4 separate regions of the Homo sapiens genome follow, and all the other regions are linked to region 2. Evidence: promoter capture Hi-C in 16 types of primary human blood cells and fetal thymus (Javierre and others, 2016). All regions are on one chromosome and are shown on one strand. The core of a region is centred on a gene start or on the middle of the fragment in contact, and the rest is flanking DNA. Distances in the headings are between cores, read along the strand shown.

Evidence for each region. Contacts are between HindIII fragments. The CHiCAGO score rates a contact against its expected background, and 5 or more counts as called.
Region 1: a contact is called between the fragment with the promoter of ZNF229 here and the fragment with the promoter of ZNF235 in region 2, in 3 of 17 cell types (neutrophils, megakaryocytes and M1 macrophages). The highest score is 6.1, in neutrophils.
Region 3: the fragment with the promoter of ZNF284 here is called in contact with the fragment with the promoter of ZNF235 in region 2 in 7 of 17 cell types (non-activated CD4 T cells, naive CD8 T cells, naive CD4 T cells and 4 more); the score reaches 7.2 in non-activated CD4 T cells.
Region 4: a contact is called between a fragment that was not itself captured here and the fragment with the promoter of ZNF235 in region 2, in 3 of 17 cell types (total CD4 T cells, naive CD8 T cells and total B cells). The highest score is 7.2, in total CD4 T cells.

Annotation. Positions count from the first base shown.
Region 1 is chr19:44,446,904-44,450,449 of GRCh38, forward strand. ZNF229 (zinc finger protein 229) reads right to left here and starts at 1,569. Exons shown (of 6, transcript NM_014518.4): 1 at 1,406-1,569; 2 at 610-697. The HindIII fragment of the contact is 11,359 bases long and covers 1-3,546 here.
Region 2 is chr19:44,303,634-44,307,388 of GRCh38, forward strand. ZNF235 (zinc finger protein 235) reads right to left here and starts at 1,392. Exons shown (of 5, transcript NM_004234.4): 1 at 1,338-1,392. RefSeq lists enhancers at 1,175-1,728, 2,305-2,806, 2,807-3,306. The HindIII fragment of the contact is 5,796 bases long and covers 959-3,755 here.
Region 3 is chr19:44,070,318-44,074,124 of GRCh38, forward strand. It overlaps ZNF284 (zinc finger protein 284), which reads left to right and starts at 1,842. Exons shown (of 5, transcript NM_001037813.4): 1 at 1,842-1,974. The HindIII fragment of the contact is 12,821 bases long and covers 1-3,807 here.
Region 4 is chr19:44,128,817-44,132,555 of GRCh38, forward strand. It overlaps ZNF225 (zinc finger protein 225), which reads left to right. Exons shown (of 5, transcript NM_013362.4): 5 at 2,034-3,739. Among named protein-coding and RNA genes, the nearest start is that of ZNF234, 11 kb to the right of the region's middle. The HindIII fragment of the contact is 1,288 bases long and covers 705-1,992 here.

The DNA of each region.
Region 1 (3,546 bases), core at 319-2,818, 140 kb after region 2:
CAGGTGGTCAGGGACAGTCTCTAAGAGCTGCCTGACAAATAAATCAGCTGTGAAAAAAGCTGGGATGAGACAAGTCCAGAAGGAAGCATAAGCGCAAAGACCTGGTTTCTGTTTAGAAGGTCTCCTGGCCAGGTCTTACCTGTTAAGTTTTTTTAACTTTTTAAACCTTAGCAACTCATCTGTGACATGGGGATAATAGCTAACATACAAACTTGCTCAGAAAATTCAATAGAAATACATTCATTTATTCAAATATTTATTGGCAAGCCTGGCACTGTCCTAGACACCATGGATAAATAATACCTGGCATATAGTAAGCACTCAGTTAATATACACCATCACAGTTACTCTAATTATTTCTACCCTGCGTTTCTTCAGCATGGCGCTGAAACAGTGTAAGCCTTTACTGACCCAGTGACACACTACTAGGAGCCAAGAAGAGAATACACTAAATAAAGACACTGGGAAATTCCTCAAACCTCCCCCATTTCTAGGGGAAGGCAGGTGTGGCTAAGGGGTCTGAATGAACATTTGTGATATCAATGGGATGAAGAATGAGGTCACCAAGAGACCTGGCATTGCCACAAAAGAGAACCAAAGTTCACTCACCTGGAGCTCTAGTGTCAAGAGATGTGGGGTTATTTCTCCTTCTTTTATACAATTATCTCCGAGAAACGAACAATTCCAAGAAGGAAGCCTGTGAAAGAAAAATGAACAGCAGGATAACATGATTTAATCCCAATTCCCACCACGCCACAGGGGGAAATCTCTCAGTGCCAGCTGGATGTAATCTACCCCTTCCTGTAATCTACCCTCGCTACTTGCTTCAGGAGCCGAGGAAAAGAACCTCTCTTCCTACAGGACTCAGAGTACAAGGGACACGCCATTCCTGATGCCCAAAGAAACCGTCTACAAGCCTACTTTCACTGCCCCTTTCAGGAGACAAGGAGAATCAAGACAAAATCTCAAGATTTTAATCCAGAGCTGACTGTCACATGCTGTGGGACACTTACAAGTGAAATTCTGCCTGTGTGTGCTTAGGCGGCTACAAAAAGCAGAGCCAGCAACGATACAGCAAACCAACTCCTAGGACTTGCACAGCGCTTAATACATTTCAAAGGATAAAATTAGAACACAGGGAATCAACTTCCTGTTTACAGAAATGACTTCGCAGAAAACTCTGAAATTACTCCACAAGTGGGTGGGCGGCTACCCTGAGAAAATTCATGTCATCGATCCGCAACTGACACAGTGGAGTCTCCCGCACTGCAGATCTCATCTCAAAGCCAGAGCTGGCCTCAAACTGCTTTTCCAAGCCTGGACTGCGAGGGCTGCCGACCCGGGCCCACCCCGCACAGGCGCTCAGAATGTTCGATACGTGCGCCTCCTTACACCCCTGCCTCACCAGGCCGAGCTCATGGAAATCCGTGGGCTTCGACCCTCCGCCGCACGTTGTCCCTTCACACTGGTCCTATAGAGCCGATCCTAATTCCCATGGCCTGACAGTACAACCGCATGGAGATGCACGTCTCTAAGACGCCTCACCACTGCCTAAGAAGCAATCAAGGTGACGCGCCCACCGGAAACGGAAGTAGTCGACTCGAGGTGTGGGACTACCTTTCCCAGAACCCTCCGCAGCGCAGTCCGATCCTAGGGGCGATGGTGTCGTAAATGCGCGTCCACCTCGAGTCACGCCCACTGCGAGGCGGCGGGAGGCGGCATGCAAGGTGTTTCTGAGTTGAAAAGAATGTCTTTACTCAGTACTAACATATTCGCGTTGTAGCAAACCTGACTATATTCTCAAACAAGCCCATCATCCCATCACCAGGGATATAAAGCATTATTGATTTTCTGGTGTAAAAGCCAACTAAATATTTATTTCAAAAGTAGTTCATATTACATGTAAAGAATGGTTTAAAAAAAATTCTTACTTAATCCCTGGTTTATGTGAGTAAATATGAATTCTTAAGAATCCCATTTCCCAAATGGCATCATAATATTTTGTAATCATTTCTTGCCACAGGTCATATATCGTGGATAGTTCTGTATGTCACAAAAGACGTAGAGATACATAGAGATAATAAAAAAACACAAATTATTTGCAATACTTGCCTAGCATTCTTTAGTTTTTAGGGAAGTTACCCCTTTGTCCTGCATTGAACTTACACTTCTAATTTTATGATATCAAAACTACACACAATCACTTTCTTTAATATTTTCCCAATTTGATGGACTAAATATCCTGTCTTATTTTCCCAATTTGACAGAGTAAATATGCTTATTACCGATTGCATTTCATTGTCATCTTTTATTGTCATACACTCTCTGTGTATGAATGATATCGCTTCTAAGTGATGAATTGCTCCCCCAGTTTCAACATTTATAAAGTAGTTTAGAAAAAAAAAAAAACAAAAAACTTCATCTGACAAGGTATATCAGTCTTTTCATTTGTGGCTTCTTTTTTTTCTCCAGTATGACCAAAAAGACATTCCTTAGCCTGATTCCCAATAAGTGCATATCTATATTCATTTCAGGCTCTTTCATTTTTCTTTTGAATCACCGCGTGATTCATTTAAGTGTATGATATGAAAGGAAGATGGAGTTTCCTGTTTCACCAAAGGATTGTCTACTTTTCTTAACAAAATTTACATAAATATTAATTCTTTCCTTTCTGATTTAAACGGCATCCTAATCACTTACTACATTACTATATATATAATGAAATATTTTCTGGGATACAAGTGTGTTCTGAAGATAGAGATTGCTTTTTCTGTGCCATGATGAAAGGTTTCAGTTACAGTGATAACTCATTTCCTTATCTCTCCCTCCTTGTTGTGTTTCAAAAATTTCATCCTAGAAGTTCTAGAACTCTCTCTTATAAACAGATTATCGAATTGTTTTGATAAATTCTAAAAAATTGCCAATTGACTCCAAAGCATCCAAGCCCTTCAGATATTTGGTTCCAAACCCACCCCTCTTTGCTTGGGTAGACACAGTCCTACTTCCCATCCTGTGTCCTCCAGTTTTACAAATGTCTGAATTTGCTGCTATTGTTCTTCCCTCTGTAAGTCCATCCTTTCCTGTACTATTAAAATCTTACTCCATATTTAAGACACAACTTGAATATAATTTCCTCTATCGAGTGTTTTTGAACTCTATATCATAATTCAATGAACAGATCAGTCTGTGATTGGGAGAATTTCATGCGAGTGTAGTGGATGTTAAATACCACTCTCAGAACATTCTCATTTCCCCGAGAAATCAATAAATTATATTACTCTGGGATCCAGCAACACATGGTTTAAATTGCTGGTTACCACCTTTCACATGGCCTCCATGGTCAGATCTCTAAGTCATCAAAATAATTGACTCTTCTTTTTCTTTATTTTCTTTATTTACCTTTCATGGCTCTGGCACATGGGAAGCACTTAAGCAATTCAATCAAGTGTCTTGGCCGGGCACGGTGGCTCATGCCTGTAATCAGAGCACTTTGGGAGGCCGAGGCAGGCAGATCACGAGGTCAGGAGATCGAGACCATCCTGGCTA
Region 2 (3,755 bases), core at 142-2,641:
GTTCATGAACATTTCATATTAACAGACCTAAATCAAATACAGCTCTCTGTGTACTCCTTCTGAACTTTAGTTTCCAAGGAAATGAGACACAGACAGGCAGGGGAATGTAACAGAGCCAAAATGCCTGGCTTCAAATTTTGGCATTTCTACCTATTTTCAACTGATCAGCAGTATAAACCTTAAGCGAATTATTAATCTCTCTGTGCCTTAATTCAGTTACCTGTGAATGGGGACAATAATAATGCCTGTATTCTCTATTTCCTGCAGCTTCTGACAAGCAAGTGCTATTATGCTTCATAAAACTGCCCTTTTGAGTATGCTTTCTAGAAAATGAATCTTTTAAGAAACCCAGAACTCAAAAATAATTGCTCTGTCCTGTGAGTTACCATTACCCTCAGAAAAGTCTGTAACTGTGATTGGTTGTCTAACATAATTAGTTCCGTTGGTAATGATAGTTAAACTGCCACAGGTTTTTTTTTCCTCCAACAGATGTAATTACTTGCAAATGTTACTAAGCTGGAGGAGCCTCAAGAAAGTCTCTTTTTCCACATGCATGAAAGCAATGACTAATAAAAACCTAAAACTCTCTAAGAAATGGTGTTACACTTAAGTTAACCACACGGGATTATTGGTTATAACCACATTATACTGAACATTTATTAGGGCCTCAGGACACCTCTGGCACTCTGCAAATCCGTAATGACGATCGCTTATCTGAGATAAAACACACAGGACATTCCCCAGGCTCCGCTGGAACTAATTCCTGTCTCCTAAACAAGAGGCTAGAAAAGTCCAAGAATCCAGGAACGGCCCCACATCAGGCAAGGATTAGAGAAGGGACAGCGGCTCCGTAGCTGGATCTCCTAGACTCAGAGGAGTTTCCAAACAACAGGCGTCTTTTTCAGTATTATAACAGAATTAACGGTGGCATCCAACATTTTCCTATGCACTGGTTTTAAGCTTATTTCTATAAAACCTCATTTAATTCTCACAAGAACATCACTGGGAACGCACTAACCCTTTACAGGCACGAGGAAACTGAGACAAGGAGAGATTAAGTAACTTGCCCAATATTTTACTGCGAGGAGCAGGCAGGACTGGCTGGTAGGTGCGTGAGGACGGCTAGGGCAGCAGACCCTCAACCTCGAAGGACGACGCGAGCCCGCCTCCCACGCAAGAGGTTCTGCCGAGGGGACGCAAACTCCCGCAGCCTCCCAACCCCGCCCTCCAGCGCTGGCCGCGGCTTCTCTTCCCCAAGCCAAGGACGGGTTCATTGCTGGCCCCACGCCTAGGCAAAGAGGGCTCGGAGAAGTCTTGGAGACCCGGAGCTGACTCACCTCCCTGGGAGATATCTCAGATCCGACCTCGCCTTCCTGGAGCGGAAGTGCCTCCGAGTGCCCACGGTTCGTGGACTCCACTTCCCAGAATTCCTAAGCGGAAGCGTCTCAGAGTTCTCTCACTCCTGGACTACAGTTCCCAGAATGCTCCAAGGGCAGCGCTTCCCACCAGCTGGGCTTTGTTTTGACTCAAGCCGGTTGGGTTTGAGCCACTTCTCTGGTGCTACTACTGTGAGATTCGTTTTTGTTTTATTCATTTTTAAAAGCTCATGAGAAAATAATTGTAAAATTTTTAAAGTGATGACATATAAAAATGAAAAGTGCAGCTTGTATTATTAAAATAAGTTAGAAACCAAAATTTTTCGCAGAAGCAGAGGGTAGGCTAAAATGGGAAGCGTAAAAGTGACTTAGGCTGAGCTCCGATGGACGCTGAACGTTAAGGAACACCAGATCTCAAACTTGTGTCAAATGCCGGCTCCCCAAATATCATCAACTCAACCTGTTGATAAGACAAAAAACAGAATTTATTGTTGATTGCAGTAATGGAGAACAACACTTCGACGGAGCGTTGGCACCTTCACAGAGCAAAGTGTCAAGGCAAGGTTGGAACTGATTGAGAACTGGATGTTTAAGGCGGGTCTTTCAATGCAAGGGATTTTATTAGTATTGCATAATGATCATGATACTACAGTCCAGGATTGGTGGATATAGCAAGGATTTTTGAAGCAAAGAATCTTAAATTGCAATCTATTGACACTTTCTTTGGAAGAGATTGAAAATTTGATGGGTCTCTGTGGAAGTTCCCATAATGAACAATTAAACAGTTTGCTTGGGCAGGAATCTCCTGGAATAAAGGCCTGCTGATGAAGACAGCTGAACAATCATGTTAGTGCCGAAAGTAAATTGTGATGAAACGGGAAAAGTTCACTTCTCCCTCTCCCAGGGCATGTGATGGGGTGTGGCTCGCTTCTTCGTGCCCAGCCGCTCAAACCTCTAGGGGAGCATGCACACGGGCAGGTTGTAGGGCTCCAACCCCACGGCAGTGTCTAGGGGTGAATGTTTACAGCTCCTGAAGCCCCAGTGGGCGTGTGTTATAGGGTGCTTTTTTAGTTCAGCCATCTGTAGGAGGCTTGTGTTAGCTCAATTAGACCCCTGACTTATCGCAAGCAAGAGAGGGCTTTCTGTATCCCAGAGGTTCTTGCCTTGGTGTACCAGAAGAATCGCATCACACATAGGCTTGGAGAAAGAGTGCAAGGATTGGAGAAACCTTGGAGAACGATTTGTAAGTAGCTCTCAGCAGAAGGGGGAGCCAGAAGGGAGATGGTTTTCGCCTGGAGTCAGCCTCTCAGCGGCCTGGGCGCTCCTCCGACTACCCAGGCCAAACTGCGTTATTCCACCGGTTAATGGCCTGCTGGCCTGCCGGTCTCTTCAGTGTGCTCTTTTGCCGACCCGCTCCCCTCGACAGCCTCTCGACAGCCAGCTGTTTGTGTGTCCGCCAATGCTCTCCTCTCAACGTCCAGCAGCTTGTGTCTCTGCCTGCTAGGGTATCAGGGTTTTTATAGGCACAGGATGGGGGCGTGGTGGGCCAGGGTGGTCTTGGGAAATGCAATATTTGGGCACAAAGGCAGGAATGCCTGTCCTCACCTAGGTCCGTGGCCACAGGCCTGGGGGTAGAGCCCTAGTCAGGGACCACACCCTTCTCCCCTCCAGCACTTCCATTCCCCTCTTCCGTATCAGTGAGGGGCAGGGAAAGAGGATGGAGTTTTAGTCCTTAGTGTCCAAGTTGTGTATATTTAGGGGTCGGTGACAAGGAGAGAAGGGAGTAAAGTGTTTGACTCTTTTCCCTCCATTATTCCTCAAGGTACCTAAGGGCTCATGACAGTGTTTTGTTTAATGTGCTATTCGTTCTAATATACTAAGAACCCACAAAAAGGCAATATAAATATTAAGCCAGAGAAATATCTTGAACTTCATTTATTTTAAATGTGTACTGTTATGGCAAACAAAAGCAGCTCCATTGGCCGGGAATCTAAGACAACGTTGTAATATGGGCATGTGTAAAATCTTGAATTGTTTTCTAATTTGTGTTCGGCTTCAAATATTTCATTACATACTTTGATCCTGATCCTGACATAAATGAAATTAAGTGTCTTATGGTTGAATAAACTAGATGAAACAAAGAAGCCGTGATTTTTCTCCTAGGCAGGTATAAATATACAGGTGACCATTGAAAAACACAAGGGTTAGGGGAGCTGACCCCTGGGCAGTTGAAAAATCTACCTGTAAGTTTTGACTCCCCCAAAACTTAACTTACTTAACTACCAATAACCTGTTGACCAGAAGCCTTACCAATAACATAAACAATTAACATATATATGTGTATATATATATATGTTTTTTGTTTTGTTTTTTGAGACA
Region 3 (3,807 bases), core at 592-3,091, 230 kb before region 2:
ATAGTTCGAGGTTTTAGATTTAAGTCTTTAATCCATTTCGATTTTATTTTTGTATATGGTGAACAACAGGGTTGAAGTTTCATTCTTCTATATGTGGATATCATGTTTTTCTAGCACCATTTATTGAAGAGACTGTCCTTTTCCCAATATATATACTTAGCACCTTTGTTGAAAATGAGCTCACTGTAGGTGTAGAAATTTATTTCTGGATTTTCTAGTTTACGCAGCACTAAAAAGAATGTACTGTACATGAAGTGATTTCTAGGATATGTTGTTACATGACCATAGAAGAGTTAGAAACGTGCTTTCTTTTAAGTAATAATGGAAAATAAGAAATCTACACATACTGATACGGTTTGGCTGTGTCTCCACCCAAATCTCATCTTGAATTATAGCTCCCATAATTCCCACATATCATGAAAGGGACCTAGTAGGAGGTAATTGAATCATGGGAGTGGGTCTTTCCCATGCTGTTCTCGTGATAGCAAGGACAGATAGAGGAGTGACTTTGAATAGAATGGGAGGCAGGTTTGCCCTAAGCGATTTCCAGCTTGAGATTTCCTTAGTGATTTTGGGGGCCCAAGATATTTTCCTTTCACAATACTAAGCAGTTTAATTTCTCTTAAATGTGGCATTTCCACGTCTAAAGAATATTAATATGAAAACTTTAAAAGTGGGAAGATAGCTTTTCCAGGAGGGCAATTGGCCCTCCATATTGGCCCTTGACAGGGCAGGAGCATCGCCATCTTGGACAAACACTGCCATTTTAAAGTTCGCGTTGATCAAAAACTGCCTAAATCCAAAGGGCATCAGCCTAATGGCTAAGGTCAGCATGACCATAAACCACAAATGACATCTCCAATCAGAAACATTCCAACCATAAGATAAACCCCTCCCTGACCAGAGACATGCCAGCACCGAGATAACCTCCCTTCCATTGGAGAGATGTCAGTCCCAAGATAACTTCCCCTCCAACCAGAGATATTCCAACCCCACAACAGACTTCTCCCCAATACAGAAACATTCTAAGCCTGTGGTAAGCTCTCTCTCCCTAAAGCCAATACATACTCTTAGTCCGTAAGAGAGAGCGCTCCTGACTGCAATCGGCCAGAAGGCCCTCTCGGTTTATTCTCCAAAACGAACCTGTCTTTGACTGTTGAGCCGCTTTTCGTGTTTTTTTTTTTTTTCTCTTTAACTCTTACAGCCCTCTTAAACACTTAAACTGTGGTTGTTTTTCTTGCCAAACCAGTGGTACAACAGTGTCTGGTTGTACCAGGGGCTGGTGCCCCACTCAATGCCTCTCCCAAACCATTTTTCCTGGCCCATTATTTAAGCTCTTAGATTTAGCCTCATACTATTAGCGTCTAGTATATTAGCCTTTCAGCCATCTCCTGACCGCTCCACAGTCACTCCCCGCTAACTCCTTGAAGATTGTATCTCCTTGCTTTGTTCTCTTTCAGTAACACTCCTGTCATCATGGGAGGCGTGTAGACTTCAGGAATTCCTGTCTATTCAATATTTTCTCTCGAGGACGCAGGGAGAGGGAAGGACCACTCTCAGGGCCACAGTCCATATTCCAAACCAGGCGCTTGGGTCTATGGGATTCATTCCTCGTGGGCATTGCAGGAAGTGTAGTCAAAGAGCACCGCGGAGTCCCACGCTTCCCGCCGGAAGGTGATACTATAGAACGTCTCCTTTGAGATTCAAGGAAGTGTAGCGCAGGAGATCTGTTGAATGACGAGCAAGTAGGCTCAGGACGGCGTATCCGGGGAATTCTGGGAAATGTAGTTCACACGCTGCGCGGGGTAGGGGCACTTCCGCTCCCGGGGGGCGAGGTTGCTGCAGTGCATTCGGTGGTAGTTTGGTGTCAGTCCTGTGTCTTGTCGGTCCTTCTAAACGTGTCCCCTTACGATGCTGGCTCGCAACCACCTGGAAGTTGACTAAGGGGAGAAGGAGTCTCGTTGGAAAACGGAGGTTTGGAGGGACAACGGCCTCTCTTTTCGTTCTTGTCAGCGGAGCCTTCTTGGTCTTGGGGCTGTCCTCGCGTCCCCGGGCATGAGGCTGGGGGTTGGGACTTGGTCGGGACGCGTCTCGCCTGGTTTGAGGGTTTTTGGGGCTCTCAGCTCGCTCAGTCCGCCTCCCTCCATCCCACCTGTGAGGCTACTTTCTCACAATTTAGGGTTGGGATGTTATTAATCTCCCTGTACCTCCCACTGCTGTTCTTTAAAATGGGGACTTTAGGACCATCCTAATGAAATCGTTTTGGGAACTGGAAGAGGTAACACAAATGAAAGCCTTAAAGCAGCCCCTCCCTTAGTGACTGGTGGTCTCTTCTTAGTGTTTATTTCCCACGAAGCCTGTCAGGTCCCCGGGTGGGGTCAGAGCTCCATCTGCAGGGATCCCCGCCCTTGTCTCTGATTCCTGCAGGACGCTGGGTGATCCCGGACGCTTCTGACCTCTTTTTAGGAAGGCGAGGGTTGTTTCCATTTCCACGAAGGGAGAGGAACATTTAACTTTTATGCCGGACGGCAATGCGGTCAGGGTGTTTCACAGCTTTCTCCTTCCCCAGCCTGATTCTCAAAAAGAGCTGCAGGGAGGGACTTCTTGGCTACTGAGGGCAAAGTTCCACGAGAGTGGTCCTTGGCTTTTTTTCTTTTACAGAGATGCTCACCCCGACCAAGAGTGTAGGATGTGTCCTCAGGCATGGGTGTTGATAATAATTAAGCCTCAATTGGTAACTTTATCCCAAGAGCTTTATACAAGTAGTCACATTTTCGCCACACCGTGGCTCTGTGGAGAGGTACTACTTTTTTCAGTTTTAAAGATGAGTGAGATACAAAGGAGCAGGAGTTATCTGAGAATAGTCACCTAAGCAGTAAGAGGTGGAGCTGCGGTTGAAACCTGGGCGTTACAGGTCAGAGCCTTAGTTGATAATCTTTTGGATACATTCTCATTGAGGCAGAGGAACTAGCTGGAATCTAGTGGGGAAAGCAAGCTAGGACTTGATTGAAGGGAGCCTTGAGAGCAAGGCTTATGGGCTTGGACTGTTCTGGGAGTTTATCAACTATTTCATTCATTAGAACTATTTCATTTATTACAAATATTTCACTTGTTATGCAGCGGTATGATTGTGGAGCGTTCAGAAATTGGAGAAATACGAGTAGTACAAGTTTATAATTACCCATGAATCCAGCATGTAAAGATAGTAACTGTTAAACTTCGAGTGCATTTTTTTTTTTTTTTTGAGACAGAGTCTCACTGTGTTGCCCAGGCTGGAGTGCAGTGGCACGATCTCGGCTCACTGCTAACTCCGCCTCCCAGGTTCACGCCATTCTCCTGCCTCAGCCTCCTGTGTGAGTAGCTGGGACCACAGGCGCCCGCCACCACGCCCGGCTAATTTTTTTGTAGTTTTAGTAGAGATGAGGTTTCACCGTGTTAGCCAGGATGGTCTTGATCTCCTGACCTCATGATCCACCAGCCTCGGCCTCCCAAAGTGCTGGGATTACAGGCGTGAGCCACCGCACCCGGTGCATTTCTTTTTGGTCTTTCTTTGGCATATTTGCATATTTATTTATAAACATTTAAACAAAATTTTATGATTAAAAAAATGTGTTTTCCCTTATGTGTTTAACTATGGAAATTTGGAAACACTGCCAAGAGGGAAATAGCTAGTGAACTTACATGTTATATCATGCTCATCCTAATTTATCTCATCGTTATCTCATTTTTTTTTTGGTAAATGTTTCCTGATATTGGCCGGGCATGGTGGCTCACGCCTGTAATCCCAGCACTTTGGGAGGCCGAGGT
Region 4 (3,739 bases), core at 99-2,598, 170 kb before region 2:
ATTTTACAGCTCACTAAGAGTCTGTAGTGTTTATTTTGAAAATGGGTATAAAGGTCTGTTTCTTTACATCATATTTTTTCTGCTATCTGTTTTCAATGAGACAGTCCAATAACTTCACATGGAACCAATCAGGGCATGACCCCTTAGGCGTTCTTTTCATCCCAGGTGATCTTACCAACTTTCATTGTCTCATCAGGATCATCCCCCTTTGTGTATTTCTGTCAGGTCCAGCCTTTCAGATTCCCATCAAAACTGAAGGTTTCTGATCCTTTTCTATTTCAGGTAACCAAGTTATTGTTCATATCAGTACAGACAAATGAGATTATACATGTTCTGCAAAAATTCTTGTACAGGAATACTCTGAAAATGTAGACATAAATACTCCTAGGTATTTGATATTTAGTATTGTGAAGAGCTTAACCAATTGCAAAGTTTAAAGTGACAGCTCACAGAAGACTGCTGTCACTGCATACCAATGACAAATTCAGTGGTTTCCCCAAATTATTTTCATGTTCCATATTCTTAAAATTATGGGTTTTTATAGGGGAAAGATGCATATTACAATTAGGAGAAAAATCAAGTAAGACAGAGTCCAGGGAAGTATCAAATGAGAACTTTTTATTGTACTCTCCCCATGAAATCAGGATGCATTACATCCCCAAGATTAAGGTGTGACATTAGACGGGAGGAGAGCCTATCAGGGAAGCTTTCCTGAGCCCTGGTATTCAGAGTAATCGTTGTCTGTTAATTACATAGCCATTATTGGTTGATTTCTTTCCCGTATGAGTAGTCTCAGTCTCCTGGTTGACTGATTCCACATGACCTAAAGCCTCACCATAAATCACATTGTTGGTCTTTCTCACATAGTGAGCACCACATTCTCCTCATAGGTGTGGCCACCCATAATCCTAAATCGTAGAATTACACCGTCCAGAGTGACTTACTAGACCTACTACCTCCAGGCAAACAAAGACACTCTCCTAGGGCATGACATTTTAAGGACTGAGAGATTGCCTCTCAGATGCTGAGGACATCACCCAGGCCTCTTTGTGACTTAGGATAATTTCTTTACTTCATAAGGATATACAATACAAACTAAAATATACAAAGTTTTGACGATGTTATGGCTTCTCCTTAAAGTTCACATTTGATTCATATTTCACTGTTTACATAATTTATTAGTTACATAATTTACCATGCAAGGTTTTATTTCTACCAAGTATTTCACATATGACACGTGGTGTGGTTCTGAATTGGTCTCATGCAAACCAGAGTCCATAGTGTACCTGGAAAACACATTGGCTGGGCACAGTGGCTCAAGCCTGTAATCCCAGCACTTTGGGAGGCCAAAATGGGAGTATCACTTGTGGCCAGGAGTTCAAGACCAGCCTTGGCAACATAGCAAGACCTTGTCTCTACAAAAAGTGTAAAAATTAGCTAGTTATGGTGGTATGTGCCTGTAGTCCTAGCTACTCAGGAGGCAGAGGTGGGAGGATCACTTGAGCCCAGGAGGTCAAGGCTGCAGCGAGCCATGATTGTGTCCCTGCACTCCAGCCTGGGTGACAGAGGGAGACACTCTCTTTAAAAAAGGAAAATACAGGGCTGGGCGCAGTGGCTTACACCTGTAATCCCAGCACTTTGGGAGGCTGAGGAGGGCGGATCACGAGGTCAGGAGATCGAGACCATCCTGGCTAACACAGTGAAAACCCATCTGTACTAAGAATACAAAAAATTAGCTGGGCGTGGTGGCGGGCGCCTATAGTCCCAGCTACTGAGGAGGCTGAGGCGGGAGAATGGTGTGAACAACCCAGGAGGTGGAGCTTGCAGTGAGCGGAGATCACGCCACTGCACTCCAGCCTGGGGGACAGAGCGAGACTCCATCTCAAAAAAAAAAAAAAAAAAAAAAAAGGAAAATACAATCTGAACATTCCCTATATTTATTAAAATTTCAGGCTATGTCCTAAGTATGAAATCTTGATAACACTGAATAAAAGCTTTACTTGCCCACATCTCTTAATTCTGTGTCATTATAGGAGGCAAGATCCAAATGGAGATGGAGACTGTTTCAGAATCAGGAACACATGAAGGCTTGTTCAGTCATCAAACCTGGGAACAAATTTCAAGTGACTTAACCAGGTTTCAAGACTCCATGGTAAACAGCTTTCAGTTCTCCAAACAAGATGATATGCCCTGCCAGGTTGATGCAGGACTATCTATAATTCACGTAAGACAGAAACCTTCTGAGGGTAGGACGTGTAAAAAGTCCTTTAGTGATGTCTCCGTCCTTGATCTTCATCAACAACTACAGTCAAGAGAGAAGTCTCATACATGTGATGAATGTGGAAAGAGTTTCTGTTATAGCTCAGCTCTTCGTATTCATCAGAGAGTTCACATGGGGGAGAAACTCTATAATTGTGATGTGTGTGGTAAGGAATTCAATCAGAGCTCACATCTGCAAATTCATCAGAGAATCCACACTGGAGAGAAACCATTCAAATGTGAGCAGTGTGGGAAAGGCTTTAGTCGTAGATCAGGACTTTATGTTCATCGTAAATTACACACAGGAGTGAAACCTCATATTTGTGAGAAATGTGGGAAGGCCTTCATTCATGATTCCCAGCTTCAGGAACATCAAAGAATCCATACTGGGGAGAAGCCATTCAAATGTGATATATGTTGTAAGAGCTTCCGTAGTAGAGCAAATCTTAATAGGCATTCCATGGTTCACATGCGAGAGAAACCATTCAGATGTGATACATGTGGTAAGAGCTTTGGTCTGAAATCAGCACTTAATAGTCATCGCATGGTCCACACAGGAGAGAAACGGTACAAATGTGAGGAATGTGGAAAACGCTTCATTTATAGGCAAGATCTTTATAAGCATCAGATAGACCACACAGGGGAGAAGCCATATAATTGTAAAGAATGTGGAAAGAGCTTCAGATGGGCCTCAGGTCTTTCAAGACATGTGCGAGTCCACAGTGGAGAGACAACATTCAAATGTGAAGAATGTGGGAAGGGATTTTATACAAATTCACAACGTTATTCTCACCAGAGAGCGCACAGTGGAGAAAAGCCATATAGATGTGAGGAGTGTGGGAAGGGCTACAAAAGGAGGTTGGATCTTGACTTTCATCAGAGGGTCCACAGAGGAGAGAAACCCTATAATTGTAAGGAATGTGGGAAGAGCTTTGGCTGGGCCTCGTGTCTTTTGAATCATCAGAGAATCCACAGTGGAGAAAAACCATTTAAATGTGAAGAATGTGGGAAAAGATTTACTCAGAATTCACAACTTTATACCCATCGTAGAGTCCACAGTGGAGAAAAACCATTCAAATGTGAAGAGTGTGGGAAAAGATTTACTCAGAATTCACAACTTTATTCTCATCGCAGAGTCCACACTGGAGTAAAGCCATACAAATGTGAAGAGTGTGGGAAGGGCTTCAACAGTAAGTTTAATCTTGACATGCACCAGAGGGTCCACACCGGAGAGAGACCTTATAATTGTAAAGAATGTGGGAAGAGCTTTAGCCGGGCCTCAAGTATTTTGAATCATAAGAGACTCCATGGTGATGAAAAGCCATTCAAATGTGAAGAGTGTGGGAAGAGATTTACTGAGAATTCACAGCTTCATTCCCATCAGAGGGTTCACACTGGGGAAAAGCCATACAAATGTGAGAAGTGTGGAAAGAGCTTCAGATGGGCCTCAACTCATCTAACCCATCAGAGACTCCACAGT